Regions from separate parts of the Homo sapiens genome. Here region 2 is linked to region 1. Evidence: promoter capture Hi-C in 16 types of primary human blood cells and fetal thymus (Javierre and others, 2016). All regions are on one chromosome and are shown on one strand. The core of a region is centred on a gene start or on the middle of the fragment in contact, and the rest is flanking DNA. Distances in the headings are between cores, read along the strand shown. Region 1 holds the start of SLITRK2 (SLIT and NTRK like family member 2). Region 2 has its middle 100 kb from the start of FMR1-AS1.

What was found. Contacts are between HindIII fragments. The CHiCAGO score rates a contact against its expected background, and 5 or more counts as called.
Region 2: a fragment that was not itself captured here is called in contact with the fragment with the promoter of SLITRK2 in region 1 in 1 of 17 cell types (M0 macrophages); the score reaches 6.3 in M0 macrophages.

What each region holds. Positions count from the first base shown.
Region 1 is chrX:145,813,360-145,820,009 of GRCh38, reverse strand. SLITRK2 (SLIT and NTRK like family member 2) reads right to left here and starts at 2,181. Exons shown (of 5, transcript NM_032539.5): 1 at 1,984-2,181. The HindIII fragment of the contact is 7,249 bases long and covers 1-4,472 here.
Region 2 is chrX:147,806,195-147,812,542 of GRCh38, reverse strand. No RefSeq gene overlaps it. Among named protein-coding and RNA genes, the nearest start is that of FMR1-AS1, 100 kb to the left of the region's middle. The HindIII fragment of the contact is 5,256 bases long and covers 1-4,477 here.

The DNA of each region.
Region 1 (6,650 bases), core at 932-3,431:
CCCTTTATACAAGCTCCTTTCTCTCCGGGAAGGGCGGGGGTAGTTTATAAACTTAGGCACTAGGGCCACCTGTAGCTGGTGATCTGTGCATTATTTTCTTGAGCTTTCTCCCTTTCTCCTTCTTCTTCTTCTAAGAGCCTTGGACCAGGCATCAGAAGCCCCCTTACCCTCTAATTCTTGCTTGGCGTTTAGCAAAATACTTTCCTTCTGGAGACTCAAATTTTCCTTCTCCATAGAGAAGGGCAAACTTGAGATGAGCTCTGAGGCAGAGGGACAGCCCTGTGGATGGCCTCCCACCCTGTATTGCAATTGCATCATTAGATGGAAGCAGTCTGATGCAGTGGGAGCACAATTAAGCTCCCTTTCCTAGCAAAGGAGGCATTTGTTTCTATGTATTTCCAAAGGTTAAAAGCACATAGTTCCTAGAGCAATAAGATTTATTCATTCAGTCATTCATTCAACAAACATGTATTATGTCAATATTTAACTGAAGTAAAGACGTGAGAGCCGAACAAGACCTTAGAAGTCAGGTTCATTTTACAGATGAGGTCATTTCTTAACCAGGGAAAGTGCTGACTTACTCAAGAAACTACAAATAGAAACAAAACCCAGGGATTATGAGTCCCAGTCCATCATCTTTCCAAAAAGCACACTACTGCTTAATATGAATTAAAAATCTACTTAAACGTAAATAGCAGTGGTAGTGTTTTACTTAAAGGTATCCTTTTTATTAAAAAAAAATGTATTTGAAAGTGAAACATCAAATACTAGTTTCGGTTCTCAGATACAGTAATTTCCTTCAAGACATTGATGACGCTTTCAATATTCCTTGAGGACAGATTATTTTTGCGAAGAATTTCAGAGACAGGAGAGAGATTCAGAGAGAAAGGTGGAGGTGGTTGGGGGCTCATGAGATTCTTGAGACCTACAGAATCAAGGAAATTCATGGGTAATCTAACTGTGGGAAGCGACACTCGGACCCTAAGGAGGTCTTCGTTCCTGCCTGTCCTTGAGAGTCCACAGCTGCTTTCCAAAACGTAGTTACTAGGAACAAATCAGCCTGAAACGCGATAACCACTTTAAGTAAGTTTCATTTGGCCCCGTGTCTTCTGAAGAACTGCCGCAGCACTCCGCTAGGGAGAGCGGGCTTTTAAGGCTGTGGAAAGGTTCAGGGTGAACTGGGACCCCAAGGGAGGGAAAGGCGGTCATTAAAATAAGGAAAACGCTCCCTCTCCTTGCTGAGGCAAGGGAGGCTTAAAGACGAACTCCGTCGCCTGTCTCACTCGCATCTAACCGAGTAGAGCCTGGCTCAGGTCTCCAAGCCTTCCACAGGACACGGTGGGTGCCGGCGGGCTTACAGCCCACCTCCGTCCCGGCCGCCCATCAGGCCACGAGGGGGCTAAGAGGAGTCCGGGGAACCAGAGAGGGGGCACTGCTTGCCCGCAGCCTCTTCTTCTAAACACCCGCCGCCCGCAAGCCGGGTCGAATCCCATTTCCGAAGGGCGCTTCCGGGAGACCAGGTGTCTCCGAGCGTCCCCGATCGCCGGTAACTGGGCACCGGCCGCCAGCGCAGCCCTACCTTCCCTGCCCCTACCTGCTAGACGCCTGGTGCGGTGCCCGGCATGCGGACCTACAGCCGCGACGGCCACTCGGGCTGCCCTCGCCATGGGACTTGGGCACTGCAGGCCGACCGGAGGCTTCTAGCTCGCGCCGGGTGCGTGGGCCCTCCCTGGCCGCCTGTGCCACCCCGCTGCGCGAGGCGCGGAGCCCGACCACGCCCGCGCGGACGGTCCCGGGGTGAGGAATCTCCAGTGGGGATTGAGGGTAGAGGGCGGCCGCCAGCGAGCTGCCCTCCGCGGATGGCGCCCAGCCTCCCCACGCTGGTGCCCCTCGCAAGGAGAGGTGGCCGGGAAAGGCAACGGACTGAGGAAAGCCGGCTCACTGGCCGCGTCGCCACCGCGTCCCTGAGTGCTCAGAACTTACCGAGCGAGCGCGCCGCCCAGATCTTTTCCCGGAGGCGCCCGCAGCATCTGCGACTCGGGGAGGCAAAGGAGCCGGCACCGCCTCGGACTGGCGCAGCCCAGGAGCGAGAGCACCGCGGGGAGCGCGGGCGGCGCCCCCAGGGCAGGCAGATCCCCACCGAGCAGCTAGCCAACGGGCAACGCTTCTTGCAGGAAGGAGGGAGGGAGGCGAGAGGGAGGAGGGAAGTAAAGCGGGAGGGAGGAGAGGGGAAGAAGGGAGGGAGGAGGGAGGAGGGAGGGAGGAGGGAGGAGGGAGTGAGGAGGGAGGAGGGAGGGAGGAGGGAGGGAGGGATCGCGTCCCCCCTCTCCCTCACTTATCAATCACCCCACAGATCAAATATCCGGGCTGTGCACCCAGGACGGGGATGTAAGAGCCCACAAAGGAGCCGCTGCTCCATTTCTCTGACAAGCGCTGCGGAGCACTGCTCACGCCTCTCGGTCCCTCTTGCCTGGAACTCTGCCCAGCCCTTGCGGCTTCCACCCTGGGCTGCAGCTCGGGCTCGGTCAAGTGAAATAAGAATGGCACACGGTCGGTACCATGTCCAAGGGGAGACTAAGACTACTGGGTGGAAGTTAACGACAAGTGAAAGAGCAGTCAGCCATCCGAGCTGGACACCCTCCGGGACAGCTGCCTCCCCTAACTAGTAAGCGCCCAGTCTTTGGGAGTTCGCAGGCAGATATTTAAGAACCTCCTACGAGGATCGTAAACAAGGACTTTCAACATAAGATAGAGCTGAACTTGAGTTGTGCAAGTGTGTTAACAAAGCAAGCCCTTAGCAGCGTTCCAGTGCCCATTTTGATTCCCTTTATTCTTCACGACGACGTTGCCTGGATCTTCTAGAGCGTGATTTTTGCCATCCTCCCTTCCCTTTTCTCCTTTCTTCTTCCTCTTATTAGTAGTCCAGGTGGTTGTGATTCTATTAAAGGAAGGCGCTCTGTGAAAAGAGTCAGTGTAGTTCAAGAGGGAGGTGCGGTTTTTGCCAAGAGCATTGCGTTTCCCCTCAAGACTTGCTTTCTCTAGGGCCTCTCCTCTACTCTTCCAGAGTATTCGAGATAAAGTTGCAGTTTGATAAATTTATGCCAGGAGTAGGGAGTTCATTTGATGACACTAAGTCATTTTCCCCTCCATCCTGTAGGAGAACGTCATTAATTCAAGTCGTTGCCACCCCCTATCCTTTTCATGCCCGCTAGAGTCTGCAAAACCCCAAATCCTTCTTACTGTCGAAAAGCGTGATGGTGGAGAGCAGACGGGGAGGCGAGGAGAGAGGTGCAAAATTAGACGCAAAATTACCTCTCCAGCTAGTGGATCTGCATTGGAATTTGTCTGTTTCCATATTTCCCATGCCTTTCAACTCGTTCTCACAGCACTGACAACCACCTTTTTCTTGTCCTTCCCGTGGGAATCTTTTGTGCTTCTCCTGTCCTCTCTTCTTGGCTTTCTTTCATAATGGTTTTCTAAGGAGATTATGCTGGGCTTTTTAAAAAGAAAACTACTGGCAATCTTATATTATGAAGATGTACAGAGTTTGCTTTAATAATAGTCGGAAGAATTATAATCGTATCTTCGGAGTTGTAAGGGTCATTACTGTTCCTTTTATTTCATTCTTGAGAAAGCCTTTTTGAAATCTTCCTACCATTCAGATAAGCAACTTCGGAATAACATAGTTCTCACATAAGCACGTGGGCAGTGTATGTACGGTTATATATCCAGAAGCATTGCTCTTCTTTTTACAATATCTGTATTAGTGTAAACATCCAATGTGCTGTTTGCTACAGACTAAAAGCAGTGCACTGAGCACATCATATTATTAACTAAATGAGGTCAGTTAATACTGTTACTTCTGTCTTTACCGTATTTCTGACTGTGTCATCTTTTCATGTCGCTTTTAGTAGATGTTATAAACAACTGCAAAACACAGAGCTAAGAGGCCATTCCAATACAGAAATAATGAGACAGTCATGCTGAAAAACTCAGACAGTTTACTAAGAAGGGTGATGTGTCTGTAGCCAAAGGGAACATACAAAATAAGCAAAAACTTCTATACAGAGTAGAGAAGGAACATGGCATTAATGATGAAAAGTGATACTTTATTTAGATCCAGTAGTAACATGTAATAGATGGCATGCATCAATTTTAATTAGCCTTGTAAGCAAGTCTAACCTGTTCACCAGCCTTCGAAAAGCATTTAGCAGCCTGCCTTTCCACATGGGACCACACTGATAGTAAGACAAAATTAAAAAGAGCAGACTTTTCTTTTTGTCAGCATAAAATTTTCAAGTAGGTGGATAGCTGTGCTTTGAATGCACAGACACGAAAATTGATGAGCAATATAAAACTTTCTGAGAGGGTTTTGCATAGACAGTTATAATGGAGGAGAGTTTGAAGTCTGTGAAAAATTTAAATATGCCAATTTATTTGAAAGCTGCTTTATGCTGAATTTTCTAAAAGCTTCTGTGTTAGAGGAAAATTTCCAAATAGAATTGAATACTAGAGACACCATATTAATGTACTTCTGTTCATTAATAAAAATCACATTATTCTTCTTTATACTAGCACTGTAAATGTATCTTTATATCCATGTGCTGTTTTCTTTTTGAAAAACTTTTATTTTAGGTTCAGGTGTACGTGTGCAAGTTTGTTATATAGGTAAATTGCATGTGGTGGGGGTTTGGTTTACTGTAAGCTACTTTCTATTGTGAAGTTCGTGTTACTAAACAACATAGAGATCCCGATTGGAAAACTAGTGGAAAAACAGAGAAATAAAACTAAATCTTGCCTGGGTTTTTATAATTTCATTCTAAGGTTAGAAGAAAACCAGAAATTTCACCTGCGATGAGTGAGATAAAAAGCGCATATGTTTCCAGGATGATGTAAAGGATGTCCTATTACTGTGTAGTACGTAATTTACCTGAGAATGTTGCTTTTTCAACTTCTTCACACCTATCCAGAACTAGAAAGCTTTAAAACATATAAAAGAAGACAAAATGTGCTGCATTTTCAGTGAACATAGTTTCTTTCCAACCAAAGGTTTCAAAGAAGAGTGCCACAGAACAAATTCCTAAATAAAGAAACGCAACAAAGCGGACATGCCCTTAATATTAGTAATTATAGTTTACAGGATATTGTAGACTTTTGTTCCTGATGTTATTGAAAAGGTGGATATTTTTCAATTCAATTCAATTATTTGGATTATTTGGCAGGCATTTTGGCCTGATTGAAATAGTGCTGGGCCAAGACCCAGGGCAGTTTTTCTTTTAATCAAATACATATCCAAGCCCTTGGAGCCCAATGACCTGGGTTCAAATTCCACCCGTGCTACTTTCTCACAATGGGACAAAAACAGCATTACACCAATTTCAGTTCCCCATGTGTAAAACTGGCACCTGCTATGTGGAGTCAGTAAGGATGGGATGTATACAGAACTCTTGAAAATTGAACGGTGGTACATGTATGTGCAAATAAATCTTAAACTAAAAAAATTTTTAACTCACTTCTTAAAATAAATAAGTTATACAAAATATTTTATATCTGTTTTCTATGTTTCTCATGACAATCCTCAACAGGCCAGTATGATTAGCCAGACTTTACAAAAGAGGAAAGTGAGACTCAGAAAATTTAAGTAACTTACCCTTACTCCCATTCTTGGTGAAATGGTTGATTTTAGTCAGAAACCAACATCTTAATTTAAGTTGGATAACAGAATTAGCATTAGAAAAAATATTTATGATTCTAGTTGGAGCCATGTAATGTCAAACATTTAAAATAACTTCAAAAAAATTCCATCTTTCATTTTACAGATGTTTTCAAATAGTTACATATATGTATACATCAGGGCTCAAACTCAACACTGTTGATATATTTGGTCAAATGATTATTTGTTGTGGGGGCTGCCCTATGCAATGTAGAAGGATTAGCAGCGTCACTGGCTTTTGTGTGTGTGTGTAATGTGCATATGTATACTATATATACATACGTGTAATTATATAAATGTAATAAGTAATATAACAATATATAATGAAATATTATTCTATTGTAGTCGATTTTTTAAATGCTTGGCTGTGGCCCACTAAACTGAACTCAGGAGTGACTGTAGATTGCCTCTTACAGTTTGAATAACACTGCCACGCTGGAATGGGCAGGAAAGGAAGGAAAATGGGATAGAAAGGAGAAAAGAGGCAGTAGATCAAGAGGGGAAGTACAGAAATAGAAGGAAAAGACAACTGCATGTCTTACAAAGTTATAGAAAGACTTATGGTGCCCCCATCAATTACACCAAGTGCCACTTATTAATGATACCTGTTCTCTAAGGGCTCTGGCTCTCCCTCTTTTTTGACTGAGTCCAGTGATTTATCAGTAAGAACCACATTTAAGCTTACTAGACTTGGGAGCACATATACATGGCAAAAGCCACAAATTTAACAGATAAGGCTCAGGACAGCATTAGTAGGTATTTCATCTATCCTGACACATTCTATCTTATGAATTTTGCTGCAGCTGGAAGTCATATTTTGGTTTGGAGTTACAACCTAATGTGTTCAGGAGGAAGCCAAATTTATTAGGTTTGACATTGCACTTTATTGGAATGGTATAATGCAGTTGAGCCTCTGTAATAAGTTCTGTTGATTTTA
Region 2 (6,348 bases), core at 600-3,099, 2.0 Mb before region 1:
AAGAAAAAAGGTAGGTTGATGGTTACTTGTCCTCCGATACAAAAGGCTTGTATTTTTTAATTTCCCTGCCACTACTCTTTACTCATTATTTCCTCAGTGTGAACATAACATAATGCATAATTTTAATATTTTATTTGCTGAATTCCTACTCGTAATATGTGTGTCTTGGTCTAGATTTCTTATCCTTGAATATGCTGTGGATTTCCAGAAGATAGAGATGAGTTTTCTGGCTCAATCTGATTAATTTTTCTCTTAGCATCATGTGAAATGTGCACTTAATAAGCAAAAATGCCTTTGATGATGATTTAACACCATCTACTGGTCTTTGATCTGAATACATCAGTCTTTAAAATTTATGGTGATTTATAAGTGGTACAACTATAGCCTGCATTCTCATGATCTCAACCAAACTGGTGTGACTTTCAGGCAGTAACTGACAGATGTCTTTCATCATATTGAGAACTTAGAAGGAGTGCACTGAGTCAAACATAATCACAATGTAACAAAGCAAAATATATGTGCCTTCAGGATGGCAGTGACAACATGCTCTTTCAAAGGAAGCAGGGGTTGCACCTGGACGAGGGGTTAAGCAGAGACTTCATGAAAAAATTTTGACATGATAAAATCATTTGTGGTTTAGCTGGGGTTCTCTTGGCTGAAGTGTGGAAGGTGAATCAGAAAAGGACAAGAATTAAAACAGAGATACCAATGAGATAGAAAAAAAATTAAAACGCAACCCCTGATATCTAGAAACTGGCTTAGCACTCACAGCTAGGCCATGTTATTCTCCTGTTGGACATTTTAAAACCCCACAGAACCCCAACACCCCACACAGTTACTCTGAGGCCATGATATAGTGAAACAAAACAAGACCACTTCATATTTTGTCTCAGCACAGACAAAACCAAGGTCACTCTGCCCCCCACAATATATCAAATATCTTCCTCTCTCTGCTGAAATGAGTGATTGTTACTTCTTTACCAATTACAGATTTATCACTGCTCTAGTATGTCCTCCATATAGATAAGATTTATTGAGATACCCAATGATAAAATTGCTCCCATTTCTTGATAGTATCCAATCCAAGGTGAGGTCTTGCTCCTTAGACCAACTAAAGCCCAAATCTTATAACTGGTTCTTTTAACTTCTTCTTACTAAGATAACCTATGCTTCTCCACGGTGTGTGCTCTCCCTCACTGCAATGAGTAATAAACCCAACTTGTTTAACTATAGATGCGTTTCTGGAGTCCTTGGCTAGAGGTTATTGACGCTAACAAGGGGACAGTAGCAGTACATGTAAGCAATGGCGAGGGCATGAAATAAACAGTGGTACCAGGGATTGAGAAGAGTGTGCAGATTGTGGAATAATTTCAAAGGCAAAATCACTAGTACTTGACTAGTTAGAGTTGGAAGTTGAAAGAATGGGACGGTCCTAGGCAAAGACTTAGTCTGTACTGTGAGTATGTAGGTGAATAGTGACGGTATTCATGAAAATTGGGAAAACAAAGAGGGGACCTTTTAGGGGGAATATTATGAATATTTGTAATGAGAGTGCCTGTGAGACATCCAGGTAGAGAGGTCCAGCAGACAGTTGGGCAAATGGGTTTGAAGATAGGAAAGGTCTGACCTAGTAGTTAAATGCAAAAGAGGGGATGAGATCATCCTGAAAATATGTGGAAAGTGAGAAGAGCATTTGGCTAAGAGTTAAACCTTGAGATTTATCAACATTTAAGGAGTAGGCAGAGGAAAAGGAGATTTTAAAAAAGAGAACCAGCAGAGATGCGTGTCATGAAAGCAAGGGAGTTAAGGGTTTTAAAAAGTGGGAAGCCATGAACAGCATCAAATGCAGTTGAGAGATCAAGTCTGTTAGGTTTGGAAATTATGAAATCATTGGTGAACAGAGGGAGGAAGAGCAGTTTAAGAGGAAGAGTGAGTATATACGCAGACAGGAGTGGGTTGGGGAATAAATGAAAAGTGAAGACTTGGAGGCAGTGAGTGTGAAGAACTCTTGAGATTTCAAAGAAAAGCAGGTCAGGTGGAAGCTAGATACAGATGTGGAGTCAACAGGTGAAAAAGAATGAGATTAAAATACCACTAGAAAGTCTGTTTTGTTCACTGATACATCATTGGTGACTACAAGCATGCCTAGCACATATTTAGGTATTCAACAAATATGGGTTGAACAAATGAATGATGGGATAATTGGCAGGGAAATTTCTAGAAGATGTAGAAGGGGTTAAAGTCAAGGGACTAAATAGTAAGGCTGTTGTTAACCAGAGGAGTTTTGTGTCTTCTTCTGTAGTGAATTCAGAGACACCATCCCATTTGTATTAGTCCATTCTCACCTTACTATAAATAACTGCCCGAGACTGGGTAATTTAAAAGGAAAGAGGTTTCATTGACTCACAGTTCTGCCTGGCTGAGGAAGCCTCAGGAAACTTACAATCATGGTGGAAGGGGAAGCAACATGTTTTTCTTCACAAGGCAGCAGGGGAGAGAAGTGCAGAGCAAAGGGGGAAGAGTCCCTTACAAAGCCATCAGATCTCATGAGAACTCATACACTATCATGAGAACCACCCCCATGATCCAGTCACCTCCCACCAGGTCCCTCCCCCAACATGTGAGGATTACAATTAGGGTTACAATTCAAGATGAGATTTTGGTGGGGCCGCAGAGCCAGACCATATCACCGTTTAATCTTAGTGTATTTAACTAGAACCGCTTGACATTTTCTGTTATCATATTCACTTTCCATGTAGCTCAAAACTTTGAATAATATTATCACCATAGATTTCTTTTGGTAATAGTAAAAAAAAAACATTATCATTTAGAGAAAGTTTGGGAATTTATGTATTTCGAATTGTAATAAACATCTTTATTGTTTCCCTTGTGCAACATTTTCTACTTATAATACTGTTCTGATTTTGTAATTGAGTTTAATTAAGAACTTTATGACAATCTGCATTTGCCACTAATCAACTGGGTTGTCCCAGAGTGTACTGCTTTCCCCATTACTGGAGTGTTGCTCATGAGGAAGCAAGCTGACCCCAAGTTTGGGATAAAGTAGTTGGAATCCAGTCACCATATGAGTTGAATCAGATAACTTCTAAAGGTCCATTGTAAAGATCTTTAGAGCTTCTAAGATTTTGCTGCTTTGTTGCCAAATTTTAAAATCAATTAATCAATTGTGTTCCCAATGTTGTCATCTCATATTTTAGGCTGTTTGAATCAAAACTTTTGATATTGGAAAACAAATTTTAGACTTTGGCAACCATGTTTTATGCAAGGAAGTTTATATTTTGACAAGTAATATAAATAGATTTTTTCTAAAAATGGGGGGAGAGAGAGAGATGGAGAGACAGAGAGAGACACCACTATTAAACTCCATTTGCTTTTTACTGAAAATTGGGATTCCATCTCTCCACTAATACTCAGAAGCTCCAGACTGATTAGGGATTTTTTTTTTGTTAACAAATAGTCAATGTCAGGAAGATATACATATATGTATTCCAGTGGAGCATAAAACTGTGGCTGTTCTCTAGAGGCAACTGAAGATTTATTGTTTTGGGAGCCTGCTTTGTCAATTCCACTAGATAGTGTTACCAATGCAAACTGACTGGCTTTCCAGAAAAGTCTGTTGTCTGCTAGTTGCCAGGTGTCTAGTGATGAGAACAGCATGCGGCCAATGTGGCAGAAAAATAAAGTGCACGCATGGCCAAGGGAAGGTGGTAAGAAGGGCTACACTGTGGAGACCCTCCTTCTCCCAAATCTGGCTGTCTCCATCTGGTCCTAGCTCAAAACACAGTCGTTTCCAAAAGCCATAATCTTGGTCCCTGGATAAACTACATAGGAAGGACTTAATGTAAAATCAGGGGTCTTGTGATGTGATCTGTGTCTCAGGAAGTCAGTGTGATGGGGCTTTAGCAGCCTAGTGCTCTCCTTAGCATAGACCAGACCCCATAGCGACTTAACTCCTAACACCTTTTCCTCTTTAGCATTCTGATACCTTGTGGCTCTTGCTGTAGCATGCAATCATGTCGGATAAATACTGTTTATTAAGTGCCTATACACAGGACTATAAACTATCCCCCTAACTGTGCAAAGCTGGTATCATTGCTGCCATTTTACAGATAATAAACTGATGCTCAGGTTAAGTGACTTGTCCAAAGCTATACAGGTGTTAAATAGATGATCTAAGATTTCAGTCCTGGTTTTTTGGGCTCCAAAGTTAGTTTTTCACTACCTTATTTGTTCATGAATTAATTAATGATGGTCCTAACATACATTTTTTCATTTAAATCATCACATTTGGTTTTCTTCATTGGTTAAATTGGCTAGATAATTGTCTAATACGGTGTAAATGTACTTACTGAGTATGAGATAGATATATACACACTTACTTGAAGTATAAAGTTTCATAGTAAAGATGTCTTTTTAAATTAATCATAAGTTTTTGTGACTCCTTGAATTTTAAGCTTGTGATAAGATAGAATTAACATTTGTGTTGTCTGGTTAGTCTGAGGGTGTCAGGTTTTCAGCAACTCAGAAATCCTGAACTCAAACTCCTGAACTTTCTTTTCCTCCCTGTCATCTCCTTCTCTCCAAGGCTGCTTCATATGGTGCAGACTGGAGACCAAACGACTCTGGGGAGTGCCACTAACATGGTAGACTATGTGACTGGCAACTGCTCTCCTTTCTCCTCTGCCTCTATTTTTGGATACACTTGTTTTGTTTAGGGTGTGATTGTGTGTGTGTGCACATGCAAAAGAGAAAATCATCTGACAGGAAAAATAATTAATGGAGAAGTGGTGATGGTTACAGCATTAATTAGGAATTGTTCTGTCAAGTAATGCAGAAAGAATGGCACCTGAAAGTTTAAACTCTGACACTAAATCTACCTCAGAACTAGAAACCAGCAAAGTGGCAAAACAAATTATGAATTCTCTTGGATATTCTGTTCCTGAAAACCCAGACAGATATATCCAGTCAGGTCAGAAGCTTATTTCTAGTGTTGAATGACATGTTTTGGAATTTTAACTGTGCAAAAGAGAGGGAAAGAAACAAAAGCTGACTAAAGAGTTCTCTTTGACCTAAATTACAAAAAGATTCTAGTAACAGATGGCTTCCTGGTCCAAAAGTAAGACAGAATCTAAAAGGTTATCAACTGTACACCTAACTACTTGCCACCATTGTAGTTTTTGCAGTGGAGTAATTGAATACTCTAAAACTATAAAGTTCCTTTCTCCCCTCCTCTCCTCTCCTTTCCTTTCCTTTCCTAGAAAATATCTGCAAGTAACTTGCAGTTATAATATTGTCTGTCCAAAAGAGAGAGGGCAATGAATGGTAAAGACCAAGTGAAAGGAGCTGAATGCAGAGCAAATGACATTACTGAAAATCTTAGATCATGTGAAAGAAGGAAATTATGCTGTTTTTGATGAGACAGTTTTTCTTTGTATATTGAGTATATGAGTGTCAATACACCAAAGACTTTCATTTTTAATTTCTCCCTCTAAGAGCTTGTATTAGTTCGTTAGGGCTTCCATAAAACATACCCCGAACATTTAGGTCATAACAGAGTCTTGTAGATTTCTTAGATTTGAATATATATTTCAAACATGAAAGATATTTGAAGAAAAGAAATATTGCATTTGGAATTAAAATCACATTTCTATATCATTTTTGGAAAGTCATCTATACTGAGCATATGAGGGTAGGCCCACTCCTGACAGTTGTAGAATCTGGGAAAAGGGTTAAATGAAAGCCTATGAATCATTTTATCTAAATATTTAAAAGTTCTGAATCATGCTAACAGAGTACTAAATAAAATACAGTAGTCCCTTGGTATCCATGGGGATTGTTTCCAGGACTCCTGCAGGTACCAAAATCCGTGGATGCTCAAATCCCTGATATAAAATGGTGTAATGTTTGCATATAACCTACACGCATCCTCCTGTATACTTTAAAGCATCTCTTCATTACTTATAATGCCTAATACAGTGTGAATGTTATGTAAAGAGTTGTTATACTGTATTGTTTAAGGAATAATGAAAAGGAGAAAAACGTCTGTAAATGTTCACTACAGAAGCAACCATCCATTTTTTTAAATATTTTTAATCCGTGGTTAGTTGGAGCCATGGATGTGGAACTTGAGGATGTGGAGGGCTGACTGTATGTTCTATCTATTTGCCTTGACAAATATACCTTCATAGCAGTCTTGATGGGCAGGATTCAATTTAGAACTCTCAGACTGCTCAGAGCTCTGGGTCAGAAGATGATAGCACATTTCTCTTCCCACCCTAGCTCAGCCCACCTCATGAGGGATCTCATGCAGAATCATTTGGATCCCCC